2 separate regions of the Homo sapiens genome follow, and region 2 is linked to region 1. The links are contacts of gene promoters, found by promoter capture Hi-C in blood cells and fetal thymus (Javierre and others, 2016). All regions are on one chromosome and are shown on one strand. The core of a region is centred on a gene start or on the middle of the fragment in contact, and the rest is flanking DNA. Distances in the headings are between cores, read along the strand shown.

Region 1 (6,727 bases), core at 1,193-3,692:
AGGAAGAGCCAGAAGGGTTGATCTAGACCTGACCAGTAGTTCCTTCTCCTAAACTCATCAACTACAGTCATGCACATCATAATAACATTTTGGTCAATGTTGGATTGCCTGTATGATGATGGTCCCATATGATTATAGCACCATATTTTTATTTTACCTTTTCTATGTTAATTAGGCTTAGATACACAAATACCATTGTGTCACAATTGCATTCAGTATTCAGTACAGTAACATGCTGTACAGGTTTGTGGCCCAGGAACAATAGGCTCTACAATACAGCCTACATATGTAGTAGAATCTACCATCTAGGTTGGTTTAAGTGCACTCTATGATGTATGCTTTAGGATGCAATTGCCCGATGACACATTTCTCAGAATATATCCCTGTCATTAAGCAATGCATGGCTGCATTTAAATCACCCATCTTCTCCAGAGTAGGAGTTGAGCAAATGAGTGAGGTCAAACATTTCCCTAATGGAAGTTCCTCCACTGGGAAACACTGCATGGGGAGGTGGGGAGAGGACCAATCATCCATTCTAAGAATATTCAGGAGCTGGTGTTGCTGGCTTTCATTCTCTCTTCCCTTTCTGAAACCTGGAAGTATCCTTTTTCACTTTTCAGCTAAACCATGTATTTACAACTATTTTCAACACGTTTTAACCAACATTTCCATGTTTGAAGCCAGGAGCTTTAGTTGCCATTTTGCCAGAAGTTGTTTCAGAGAGTTTTTTTTCACAAAGGAAACAGGCTATTAAGGCAACTTCTCAAGAACAGGCCTTCCTGGATCCCTTTCCTAGCTGTTTTTAGACTTTAGAGATACCATAAAATATTTCCTAACATTATTCTTTCATTAACTGTAATAAAATAACTGAGTGTAAATCTCAGCATATTCAAGGATATATTTATTTTTCTCCTGAGTTTATTAGGCAACACACTTTTAAACACATACAATAAATACAATTTGAAGTGCGTGCTTTATATCTTGCATGATGTCGTTTGTGTTCTTATGCTTGTCTCCATTAGTCTATTGCCATATAGTAATAAAGCTTTATCAAATCAAACCTTTATAATGGATTCCTTGAAGATACTTGAAAATACTTCATAGCCAATAGTTTTTACACAATTGGTTTTTCAAGCAATGAATTTCCATTTAAATAAAATATGGATTTACAATACATAGAAAATTTACAAGGAGTTATAAAACAGTGGGAAAGTATGTCTAGCCTAAACTTTTGTGCATTTAGTCTAGGAAAATTTCACATCCCTCTTTCCACACCTATAAAGCCAAACAGAACCAGGACTGACTTGAGGAAAGCAATTATTTATCTCTGCTGTGTCTAACTAAGCAAGCTGCCAAATGTGATCATTTGCCTGATTGGAAAATCACATAAATTAAGACTTTGCCATCAACTTTCTTTCAAGTAAGGAAAGAAAAGCATTTCAATATAGTAATGCAAAACAAGTGGAAATTGTTATTGAACATTTACTTGGACGGGCACTGTGGAAAATTATTCCTTGTCCAACCACCTCCTCAGCTGTAACTGGTAGCACAATTCTTGACCCATTTTACAGATTAGGAAACATGAGTTTCCAGAGTTTATTGGCACTCACGTGGCTGTTACATCGTTTTGATGTTCAAACGACCTACTTTATTCAAAGTCAGGTAGTACAGTCTGCTGGTGGGAAATACAGTATTACTCAAGGGACTTCAAAGGAACAAGAAGATGTTTGAGTTGCACAGTGAGCTAAATTATGCAAGTTGCAGAAATCCTAGGTGGATAGTACGACACCTTTCAGATCAGTTTCTACCCTCAAGGGTGGCAACAACCTTGTAGATCCATTATGGATTAGGTTTCTAAACTGTTTTGGTGTTATGAACCCCTAGAGTCTTCTGGGGAATCCAATGGACCTCGTCTCAGAATAATGTTTTACAATGTATAGCAGAAAGAAGAGAAATTATATTGAAATACACTTCTGGCATTTGACCCCTTAGGATTTTTCCAGCATTTCTACTCTGCCCACCTCTCCTCTCATGTCTACCAAAGAGACTTTCTCTACTTTATTCAGAAAGGTAAATGAGAGACACTCAAACAGGTCTGTAGGTTATGGGAGTAGCAGGGAGTATGGGATAGGCTACTGAGGAGCTGTTTTTGAGGTGACATCACTGTCTCCCTTCCTTTTTCCCTTCCCTCTGGAAGCCTCCTTACTTCTCCAGCTCTTCCTTCCTTCCCCACATCAAGTCCAATTTTTCTCCTTTTACTTCTTGTCTATCCTCCTCACTCCTTGCTCAGCCCCGCCCGCTTTTCTAGGCCCGCCCCTCCAGGGCCCCACCCTCAGGCCGCTCCTCCAGTCTAGGCCCCGCCTTCTCCTCAGTTTCCTGCCAATGACGCTGGGGCAGCCGGGGCAGCCGGGGCAGCCCGGTCACCCCGCCCCCAGGCCCACACTAAGGGTGTCCGCGGCCTGCCCTCCAGGCGGAGGAGCCCGGACTGCGGAAGGATGGAGCTGGCCGCCGGAAGCTTCTCGGAGGAGCAGTTCTGGGAGGCCTGCGCCGAGCTCCAGCAGCCCGCTCTGGCCGGGGCCGACTGGCAGCTCCTAGTGGAGACCTCGGGCATCAGCATCTACCGGCTGCTGGACAAGGTAGCGGCCAACCCGCTGGAGGACCGCGGGGCCTAGAATGCGCCGGGGTCGACCTCCCCGCAGGGAGTGCGGGGCGGCAGTCGCGGAAGGGACAGGGGCGCGTCTTCTCCGGCTCAGGAAGGAGCTCCGCCCGGACCCTGTCTCAAGCTCTGGAGCTAGCGCAGGGGCGGTGCCTCCAAGTGACTGCCGTGCAGATCCAGGGGAGTTGGAAGGTCACAGGAGTTCAGCCTCAGGTCAGGCCCGACGGGGCATGTAGTTAGAAGTTAATGACAGTTGAAACGTGGGTCAGCTGGTTCCTAGGCCCGTGCACACGTCTGCAAGGGACGTTGATCCTCACTCTCCAATGCGTGTCAGTGGCATATGGGGGCTGGGGTGGGGGAGGGGCGGTATCTTAGGGCTTGGATATAGGAGGAAAAGAAACAGAACTTTTCAAGGACTGGATGTGCAGGGTGGTGTCAGGGGTTGCCGAGAAGGGCCCTACTGTTTTAGTGACTCGTTTCTTTTGGTTGTTGCCCCTTCCTTCCAAGTTGCTCTTAATAAGTTGAGTCCGAATCTTCAGGCAGGAGTAAAGATGTAGGAGGAATGGGATTGGTTGTTGAAGTCTTTGGAATCAGGTAGCCATCCAGGTGGAAGGCATTGCCCCTGAGGCCTGTCATCCAAGGCTTGTCATCAGTTGCTTTGTGTAATAGTCGCAGCATGGCAAGTAGGTTAAAAGTCGCCTGCAGGTAATGTGGGTGAAACTGAAGTTTCCTAATACAGGACCAGGATATTATAGTGTTAGAGTTAGGAGGATACCTCATGCTCACCTGGTTAAACCCCAGGTTTCATAGGTGAAAGCAACAGGCCTCAAGGGTGAAGTCACTCCTGAAATGGCCCAGATAAGTGAATAGCAGAGGTGGGATTGGAGGGTTCATGATCTTGTGAATGTCAAACATGTGGTTGCCTTTTTAGGCACTTGCATTTTTGTTTACATCAAATATAGTGTTTTTATATTTTAAAACAGAAAACAAACGTTTGCAATATTTAGAAGTTGCTCACCTGTTAAACAGGAATGAAAACTCTGCCTGTCTCATTGCAGGAATGAAAACTCTGCCTGTCTCATTGCAGGGTTGTTAGGGGGTTCAAATCCAATCTGTCAGATATGTGTGAAAATTTGATAGCTGTAAATAACTCTACAATGCACAGGACAGTGACCCCATACCTCTCCCGGGGAAGAATTATCCAGTCCCAAATTGTAATATTGCCAAGGTCAAGAAACCCTACTCTAAATAAATGGAGAATATAGGTATTATGAAGAAATTTCCTGTCTAAATACATATATATTTGCTTTGGATGCAGTCCGTCCCTCTCCAGTTAGTGGGACTGTAAAACATGCTATTTGGAATACTTACAAATTAGTAGGGCTGGCCTTTACATAATCCAGAACACAGCAGATACTGCAAGTGGCTAAGCTGCCATATTTACTTTTTTTCTGTATACAGATGTTATATCTTGATGGATTACTCACTCAACAAACTCTGAATGCTTGCTGTGTACTAGGACCATTGGGTTTAACAAGATGATCAAGAAGTTCACAGTCTAGAACAGGCAGAATTAATTTCTTAGGGTAACTTTAAAAGGTACCTTAGTTTGAAAATTGATACATTTTCAGAAAAAGTCTTTCTTTTAATTTTTATTTTTTAGAGATGAGGCCTTGCTATGTTGCCCAGGTTGGTCTTGGAACTCCTGGGCTCAAGCAGTCCTCCTGCCTCAGCCCTCAGCCTCCCAAAGTGCTGGGATTACAGGGATGAGCCACCACACCCAGCCAGGCAAAATTCTTTTATCTTCTCTGCTATTCCATTTTTCTTACCAGCCACATCAAGGCTTTGGCCAAGTTTTGTTGATTCAACTGCTCAGACGTGTCTAGCATCTGGCTTATTTCCTCCCATTTTCTTTCCTTTATCTTTGCTACTTTGGGTACTCAGCACCCCTCACTTAGAATTGCAGTGACCTCTTAACTAGTTTTTGGCCTACCAGCTCTCTGCTCCTGTCTATCCTACACCTTCCAGTGCAGTCAAACATCTGAGAAGCAGTGATCTTATCACTACCTTTTCAGTGGCCTATTGATTGCAGAAATAATAATAATCATCACTGTAATAGCTAACATTTATTGCATGATTTCTTATAATTCAGGTGCTAAGTGTTTTGGAAGTATTGATTTACTCAATCCTTGCATCAACCCTATGATAAGGTACTATGATGATCACCTTTTTACCTATATATAAATGAATGCATAGAAAGGTTAAGTTGGTTTCTCAAGATTCCAGCTAGGATCCAAACCCAGCTGTCTGCCTCCAGTCCTGTGTCTTCAACATGCTCCTGCATTGCCTCTCCAAACAGAAGGCAAATGCTGCCTGGTGGGTACACTGAACTAATTTGGTCTCAACTCACATTTCCATCATTCTCTCCCATTACCATAGACCTGACATCTTCTCCTCTAGCGAGCCCAGACCGCTGTGCCATCTTCCCTGTATACAGACGAGGCAGTTGAGGTCCAGGGAAAGTCAGTGGCATATACAAAGCACACGGCTAAGAAGTGGTGAATAAAACTGGGATTTAGATCCAAGTCCATCTGCCCATGAAGCCCCTACTCTTTCCCCAAGCCACACACACTCTTTTTCTAATAAAGCTTCCAGCATGTGGGATGGACCGTCTTAGGAGGGTGAGTCCTCATTATTGGAAGTACAGTACTGTGTTGGAGAAAAAACTCAAACTGTTTTTTTCATTATCTCAACATCACCAACAACACAGAAGCACAGAAGACTCCTGTGACCAAATGTCTGAGGATTTCTCTCCAAACACCAAGTAAGCAGTCAGTTTTGCGGTGGACGTCAGCTAGGTGTCCTCCTGTTCAGTGTTGACACTACCTACCTGGAAATAGTGTCAGATCCCGTAGGTTGAGGTCCCAGTCCCACAAGATTAACCCCCTCTTCCCTGCCACTTGTAATGCCAGTTGAAAGCCCCAGGTTGTTTTACCTGTGCTTCTGACCAACTGGCTGTAAATAGGGGATCCCATGACCCCCTCCTTGGATTCAATTAATTTACTAGAGAGGCTGACAGAACTCAGGGAAACACTTGCTTTCATTTACTGGTTTATTATAAAGGATACTACAAAGTATACAGATGCATAAGATGAGATATGGGGGAAGGATCTTGGAACTTCCATGCCCTCCTTGGATGCATCACCCTCCAGGAACCTCTATGAGTTCAGCTATCCAGAAACTCTCTGAACCCCCTCCTCTTGGGTCCTTTATGGAAACTTCATTGGCTAGGCATGATTGAAGCATGGACAACAGTGTTGAAATATGACTGGACAGAAAGGGTCTGATCTCATATTAATAGACTGATTGGGGAAACCCAAGAAGGCCTGTCCAGATTCTTCTGGCCTCTCCATGCGACATTCCTTCTTCCAGGGTATGAGGCAGGACCCTCCCTGGAATGAAGTTCTTGCAACTCTTGGCTCAACTCCTGAGGCCTAAAGTGCACCAACGTACAAAAGACTGTAACGAGGGCTATGAGAGTTATGAACCAGGAACAGTGGATAGAAACCTGTGTGCGCGCGTGTGTGTATTGGATGTACAGTACTGGAGTATGTATGTGGGTGTGTGTGTATACTCTATGTCCAATACACACACGCCGCCACACATATGTATACACACATATGTAAATTATATATTTATATACACACATATACATATGTATGTATATGTATACATTTTGTATATATAGCTCATAATATCACAAGTACTGTATTCAGAAAGGAGACCAGAGACAATTTGTTTATATACTTCATTGAGCCTTTATTGAGGATCTGCAATGGGTCAGATTTCCATCTATGGAAATGGATCTGAGATAGAGTTGCTCCCCTGAAGATTCTAGTGGCTTAGTTATGAAGTTATGGGCGTCGGTTGGACTGATGGTCCTTTAAGGACCCGATTGTGCATAGCATGCTTGCCACTGTGTGGTACGAGCTGGTTGTGACGACCCTTCACTTTGCTTCCCACACTCAGCATAGAGGTGGCCAACCTAAGGCCAAAGCTATGTGGCTTCTT
Region 2 (6,727 bases), core at 1,824-4,323, 770 kb before region 1:
TAGGCTTTTGCTTACAAAGCCTTTATAGGTCTATTCTAGATGTATTATTTTAGACTTTGCAATGACAGCTTAATAAATCATCTACTTATTTGTTTGTGACAGGTGTCTGTGTGTGTGTTGTTAAGTAAAATGCAATTGTATGTAAACCAATATATTACAATTACATAATTTTTAACAAAAATATAACACGTATGAATTGTGCCTGGTTTTTTCTTCCACTGCTTTATTAGTAACATTTTTAAATGAAGACATATAATCATATAATCAAGCAGAATTTGGGGTGGGAGGGAAATTATTTTCTAGAAGATGAAACACTTAAAGCTTTCCCAAAATATTTTTTGTTATTTACAAAATAGTGGATTTTTAAAAGGCATTAAATTAACAATAAAAAAAAATAATACCTAGGAATTAACTAAATAAGAAATGTGCAGCTGTTACCAGTGCAGGGTCTTGACTACAAGTCGTCCAGGTTCTTGGCAATTTGAACAAAGATTTGGACAAAATGCACAAACAAAGCAAGGAAAGAATGAAACAATGAAAGCACAGATTTACTGAAATGAAAGTACTCTCCACAGAGTGGAAGCAGGCTGCAGCAAGTGGCTCAAGAGCGCTGGTTACAGAATATTCTGGGGTTTAAATTTCCTCTAGAGGTTTTCCATCGTTTCCTTGGTTACACCCTATGTAAATGAAGGAGTGGCCTGCAGCTAATCAGAAGTACTTTCCATTTTTCATCTGCCATGCAGTGCAAAGGGAGTAGCCTCTCATCCTTTTGTGGAGAGGTAGGGTTTTCCTTTTGATTCAGTTCTAGGAAGTCAGCACCAATCAGCCTTAGGCTCCCTGCCTCCAGACCCTATTCTCCTGCCTCACAAGGTCACTGTGAAGGCAACTTTAAAACACAGTAGAAACAGGCTTGTCCCATCTGTGGCCCATGGGCTGCATGTGGCCCAGGACAACTTTAAATGTGTTCCAACACAATTTCGTAAACTTTCTTAAAACATGAGATTTTTTTGCGTTTTTTTTTTGTTGTTGTTGATGATTTGTTTTTAAGCTCATTAGTCAATATTAGTGTTAGTGTATTTCATGTGTGGCCTAAGACAATTCTTCCTCCAATGTGACCTGGGGAAGCCAAAAGATTGGCCACCCCTGCTATAGAAGTTCACAAAAGAAGATTTGAACAAATAGAAAGTGATACCAAATTCCTGGATAGGAAGACTCAAAATAACATCATAGATAACAATACTTCTTCAATTATTTGTAAATTTAGTGTGATTCCCTTACAAATAGCATTGTTTTGTTTTTTAAACAAGATAAGAATACTTTGAATTTAATGTGTAAAAATAAACAACCAAAAACAACCAGGGAAACTTGGTTAACAAAAGAACAAATGAGAGATGATCGGCCTTACTAGATATGATAGTGCCTCTGTAATTAAAATAGAATGGCATTGGTGTACAAATAAACAACCTAACCAAAGGGCCAGAATAAAAATTACAGAAGTAGACCCAAACACTTAAGAGATTTTGTATATGATGAAAGTTGTATCTCAAAATGGTGGGGAAAAGATTTAATAAATGTAGTTGAGACAATGGGGTGGTCTTCTTGGGAAAAATATGAGTTGGATCTGTGCTTTATATTATGATGGATTCCAAATGGATCAAATATTTAAAAATGAAACCATAAGAGTACTGGAAGAAAATATGAGAGAATTCTTTATAACTTTGGAGTGGGCAAGGAGTTTCTAATTTGACCTAAAACCTGGAAATCATAAAAGATTCATAAGTTAGCCACAAACTTTTGTGTAACAAAAAGCCCATAACCCAGAAGAAAAGGGGGGAAAATATATTTGCAATTCTTAATGCTGATAGAGAGATAATTTCTGTAATATTTAAGAACTCCTAGAAACTGAACAGAGAAAGACCTAACGATAAATAGAAGAATTGGCAAAAGATGTAAAAAAAACACAGTTCACATAAAAGAAGATACTGAATGGTTCTTAAAGCATAAAAAAACTCTTCTGCCTCACTCCAACTACCTTGAGATACCATTTTCATCAATAAAACTGGCAAAAATCCAAACGTTATTTAGTATACCATAGTGGAGAAAATTTAGAGTAACAGGCACTATAGTTGGTGAGATAGTAAATTAGTACAACCCTGACTGAGGGACATTTGGCAATTTGTATCAATTTCATTATGGCATTTTTGTAATTTCATTAAATTAATATTTACTATAATTTCTGGCAGAAGATATTTTTATCCCTTTTATTTTCTCTATTTTTTGTCCAGTGAAAAGAACTGGTTTTATTGAATACCATGTCTGAGAATATAAATTACTAAGTCTTACTCAAACACCATATGCGTTATGGACAGATTTTTTTAATCTGATGAGATTTCTAATTACATGGGATGAAGATTGTTTTAATGAGATCATAAGTAAACAGACTTATCAAAGAAAAGCTCTAATTTAAGTTTTCTGGAATAGATTCATCTTTAACAACAAGATTTTTTTTCTCCAATGTTCCACTTTCTCTGTTTTTGCTGACCTGTTTGCCTCTTATGATTCACCAAACTAGAATAACAATATATTTGTCTTCAATGTTCATATTTTTAGTAAAAGAACAGAATGTTTTCCTTCTGTGTTATTTATTAATTATGGGAACTTGAGGGTGGTTTGTGTGTGTGTGTGTGTGTGTGTGTGTGTGTGAGTGTGGTGAGTATGTGTATGTAACATTACTGGAATCCCTGTTGGCTGAGGGCCTTGCAAGTTTGTATAAAGAGAGAGTAGGAAGCAGGCAAAGGAGAGGGAAAGGACAGGCATTTTATGATATTTAAGGACATGACAATGAATACCACTGTTGGGATGGATAAGATTAAACCCACTTCTGTTTAATCAATAGTGTCATCTTTATATAAAAGAGATAACACATTACCACTCCTTACTCTCTCATTCCACTTTTTTGGTGAATCAAACTTTTTACCTGAATTAATTTTCCAGCATACTGTAGTAGAAACAAACAGCTTGGGTTTGGAGCAAGAAAGAGCAGGGTTCAAACTCTACTTTACAACTAGCCTGTGACAATGGACAAGCCACATACTTTCTGTATGACTTATTTTTCTTTTGTATAAAATTGGGTTAATAATACCTCCCTTGTGGGGCTCCTGTGGGAAGAAAATCCTGTAACATGGTGCCTGGCTGTATTCGTGTTTAATGATGACTTAGATCCCAGGTTACGCAGCCTTTCTCCATACTCCCTGTGTATACTGCTGTCAGAGCACTTCACCCCTCCTGATCTCATCTCATCTTTGGCACTTAGGACACTGCCAGCATGTTAAGTGAATGGAATAAACACCTAAATTTTATTTTAAACCTTAAAATAGAAATGTTTTAAAATGTCTTGTTAAGTATATTATATGGAATCTATTGTAGAGTAGCATTTATACATCATTAGGCTTGAATATGTTCCCAGGGGACCTGGGGACCTGTGTCCAGTTAGAACAACTCACCAAAGATGAGGATCTTACTCACTTTGGTACCAGTAGAAAGACTGCTCAGTTTTTCACATCTGCTTTTGAGCAAGGTGTTACTATTCTTACCTTACTTAATAGGAGGAGATGCTAAGAGGTTAGGCAATTTTTCTAATGCCATATTACTAGCCCATGGCAGTATTGCCATTTGAACTCTGCATTTCTTTTCTTTTTTTTTTACTTATGTCTAGTACATTTTCCACAATATTAAATAAATACATTTGGAATACATAGTGTGTGAAACATAGTGCCAATTAATGGTAGTTGCTATTATTGTTATTATTTGAGAATGACCTCTCTTGAGGTTTGAGAATCTGCTCCATGCGTGTATCATTAAAGCAGTCTATAATGAACTTATGCAAACTTAGTTTTAGAATTGAACTCTCTTCCATGACTATATCAGTCTTGTGGACAGCTGCAGTGGCTCTTGACTCTGAGAGACTACTAGTCAAAGCCCAAGGATTTTAAGCTCCTCCCTCAGGTGGCCCTTCTTTTCCTCATGGGTACTGAATAACTTTCTTACTTCATGGTCATTGGACTTTTGCTACTGACATTGTGGCTTGGTGGCTTCATTTTTCTGGCTGCTGTTGATCTGCATGCTTCCACTGTTCCTGTTGCTTGCTACTACAGAGGGCGTGAAAGTCGAAATGTGTTTTTACCACCCAGACCAGTGAATACATTGCTATGTTAGGGTCTCAAAAGTAGTTGGCTCTGTGTTTGGGGCCCATTCAGTTAATTTACGGAAGAATCTATGATTTCTTCTGCATACAGTGGTTGAAGAAAAGATAGGATGATCCTCTTGATTTTAGTCTTTAATCTCTCAGTTTTGTTCTCCCTAGAACTTTTTGTTTCTGAGTCTTCAATTTCTCTGGGACTCTCTTTTTCTTTTTTCTTTTTTTTTTTTTTTTTTTTTGAGACGGAGTCTGGCTCTGTCGCCCAGGCTGGAGTGCAGTGGCACGGTCTTGGCTCACTGCAAGCTCCGCCTCCCAGGTTCACGCCATTCTCCTGCCTCAGCCTCCCGAGTAGCTGGGACTACAGGCGCTGCCACCACGCCCGGCTAATTTTTTTTGTATTTTTAGTAGAGACGAGATTTCACCGTGTTAGCCAGGATGGTCTCGATCTCCTGACCTCGTGATCCACCCGCCTCGGCCACCCAAAGTACTAGGATTACAGGCGTGAACCACCGCACCCGGCCAGTTTCTCTGGGATTCTTTAAGATATGTTCCTCCTGCACCTGTTTCCTAGGCCAGAATTTTGTTGTGAATCAGTTGCTGATGTGCTGATATATTGATTCTCCTCAGCTTTTCAGAGGATATCAGCTTTCTTTACCTTAGTATGCCATACAAATATTACCATTATGTGTGTGCTCAGACTTAAAAAATGTTTAAGAAGCACTGCCCTAAATTTCAGCTTCTTCACCCCTCTTTTACCAATTATCACCCAACCATCTTTTTTTTATCTTCCAAAAACTTGTTCAAAATTTTCATCCAATGGCTCTTTTCCCATTTACTCTTCAACATTCTGAGTTTGTACTGTTTGTAACTCTTTACCCTAAGACTTTCATATTAGTTGGCTCTTGGGAGGGAAAGAATATATGTGCCAAGGTCAAGATGCCATTTTTAACTGAAAATCGGGTTTTTTAAAAGTTTAACTTTATTAAGCTATAATTGATTTACAACAAACAGCAGATATTTAAAGTGAGACAGTTTGTTACATTTGACATGTATCCATTTGTGAAATCATCGCCACAATCAAGGCACCTACTGTACCTCTGTAGAAACTGAGGCTTGGAGAAGCCCAAAATTTCAAATGAGAACCCAGGCCTATCAGATCTCAAGGTCCATCCTGTAGACTATAACCTGAGTTCTAGTTAGGAGAAGAAAAACAACAACAACAACAACAACAAAAACACTATTTTTCATTTGTGAGGGAAAACCACACAGTCTCTGAATCTAGCTCCTCATTTCTTCAGGAAGAGAGTTGTACTAAATGATCCTAGTGTCTTTTTCAACTTTAAGTTCCTTTGCTTCATTCATTGTTCTTATGAAAAGGTGGTAAATCTCTGTTCAAATACAGTTTGTTTTAATTAAATGACACCACTATTCTCTGTAATTTTCACAGTGGAACAATATAAGACATTAAAAGCATATTTTTTTCTCTTCATAGGAAAGCCATTTAAGAAGTTCCTGGAATAATATTAGTCAGAGTAATATAGGATCTGCAGGAAGTGTCTCAAGATAGTTGGTAAGATAATAAGAATTTAGTTTTTTTCAAATGCATTGCATAATTATTTTTCTGACTATAAGCTTCGTAGCCTTGTACTCACAGGAGACATTTTCCTTAATCTTTAACTATTATGTGATTTTTAAGCTTACCAAGGGTGGAAGTTGTAATAGTTACCTAAAGCTTAGCTGTATGTTCACTTTTGCCAGAAAATGAAGATGTTATATAGATATGGATATTCATAATGATATAGACATAGACTTATCTATCTAATGAGCTGTCTTTACACTTCTCGGATGTTATTGTCAATGATAAAATGCCATAACACAAAATACATACAATACATCTAACATCTATATACAGGCTTATATTATTTATGTTCCAAGTGTATATAATGTTTTTATGAACAGTTGGAATCAAATTTGACAGTTCTAAGACCTGACAATTTATTTTCTACTTCTTCAATCCTAGGAAAAGAAGAATTTCTAGACTCTTCATCAAGATCTTCATTTATACAGCTGTTAAATCCAAGGCTACTTTGGTGAAAGCATGAATAAAAATACATCTACTGTAGTATCACCCAGTCTACTTGAAAAGTAATTTTTAAGTTTAATATGTTTTGAAATATAGTTTGAAATATGTAAACTATTAATGAACATTTGATTAAAAGTTTTTTTACATCTAGCTCTCTAATGTGGTCTAGGATAGCAGCAATGAGTAGTGAGTAAAGTAATACGTTGAATTACCTTTCAATGTAAATCAGTGTATAGAACAAAATCTGCATTCTCTTTTAAGTCATCTGTGCAGGCACGGTAGGGCATGCCTGTAGTCCCAGCTGCTCGGGAGACTAGGACAGGAGGATAGCCTGAAGTTGGGAGTTTGAGGCTGTAGTATGCTATGATTGTACCTGTTAATAGCCACAGCACTCCAGCTTGGGCAACATAGCAAAACTCTGTCTCTAAAAATAATAAAAAATAGAC

The links. Contacts are between HindIII fragments. The CHiCAGO score rates a contact against its expected background, and 5 or more counts as called.
Region 2: a contact is called between a fragment that was not itself captured here and the fragment with the promoter of PCTP in region 1, in 1 of 17 cell types (erythroblasts). The highest score is 5.7, in erythroblasts.

Annotation. Positions count from the first base shown.
Region 1 is chr17:55,748,609-55,755,335 of GRCh38, forward strand. It overlaps PCTP (phosphatidylcholine transfer protein), which reads left to right and starts at 2,443. Exons shown (of 6, transcript NM_021213.4): 1 at 2,443-2,636. The coding sequence starts at 2,496. RefSeq lists a silencer at 2,241-2,580. The HindIII fragment of the contact is 1,470 bases long and covers 1,044-2,513 here.
Region 2 is chr17:54,979,924-54,986,650 of GRCh38, forward strand. STXBP4 (syntaxin binding protein 4) reads left to right here. Exons shown (of 18, transcript NM_178509.6): 2 at 5,691-5,768; 3 at 6,219-6,343. The coding sequence starts at 6,297. Among named protein-coding and RNA genes, the nearest start is that of STXBP4, 15 kb to the left of the region's middle. The HindIII fragment of the contact is 5,509 bases long and covers 320-5,828 here.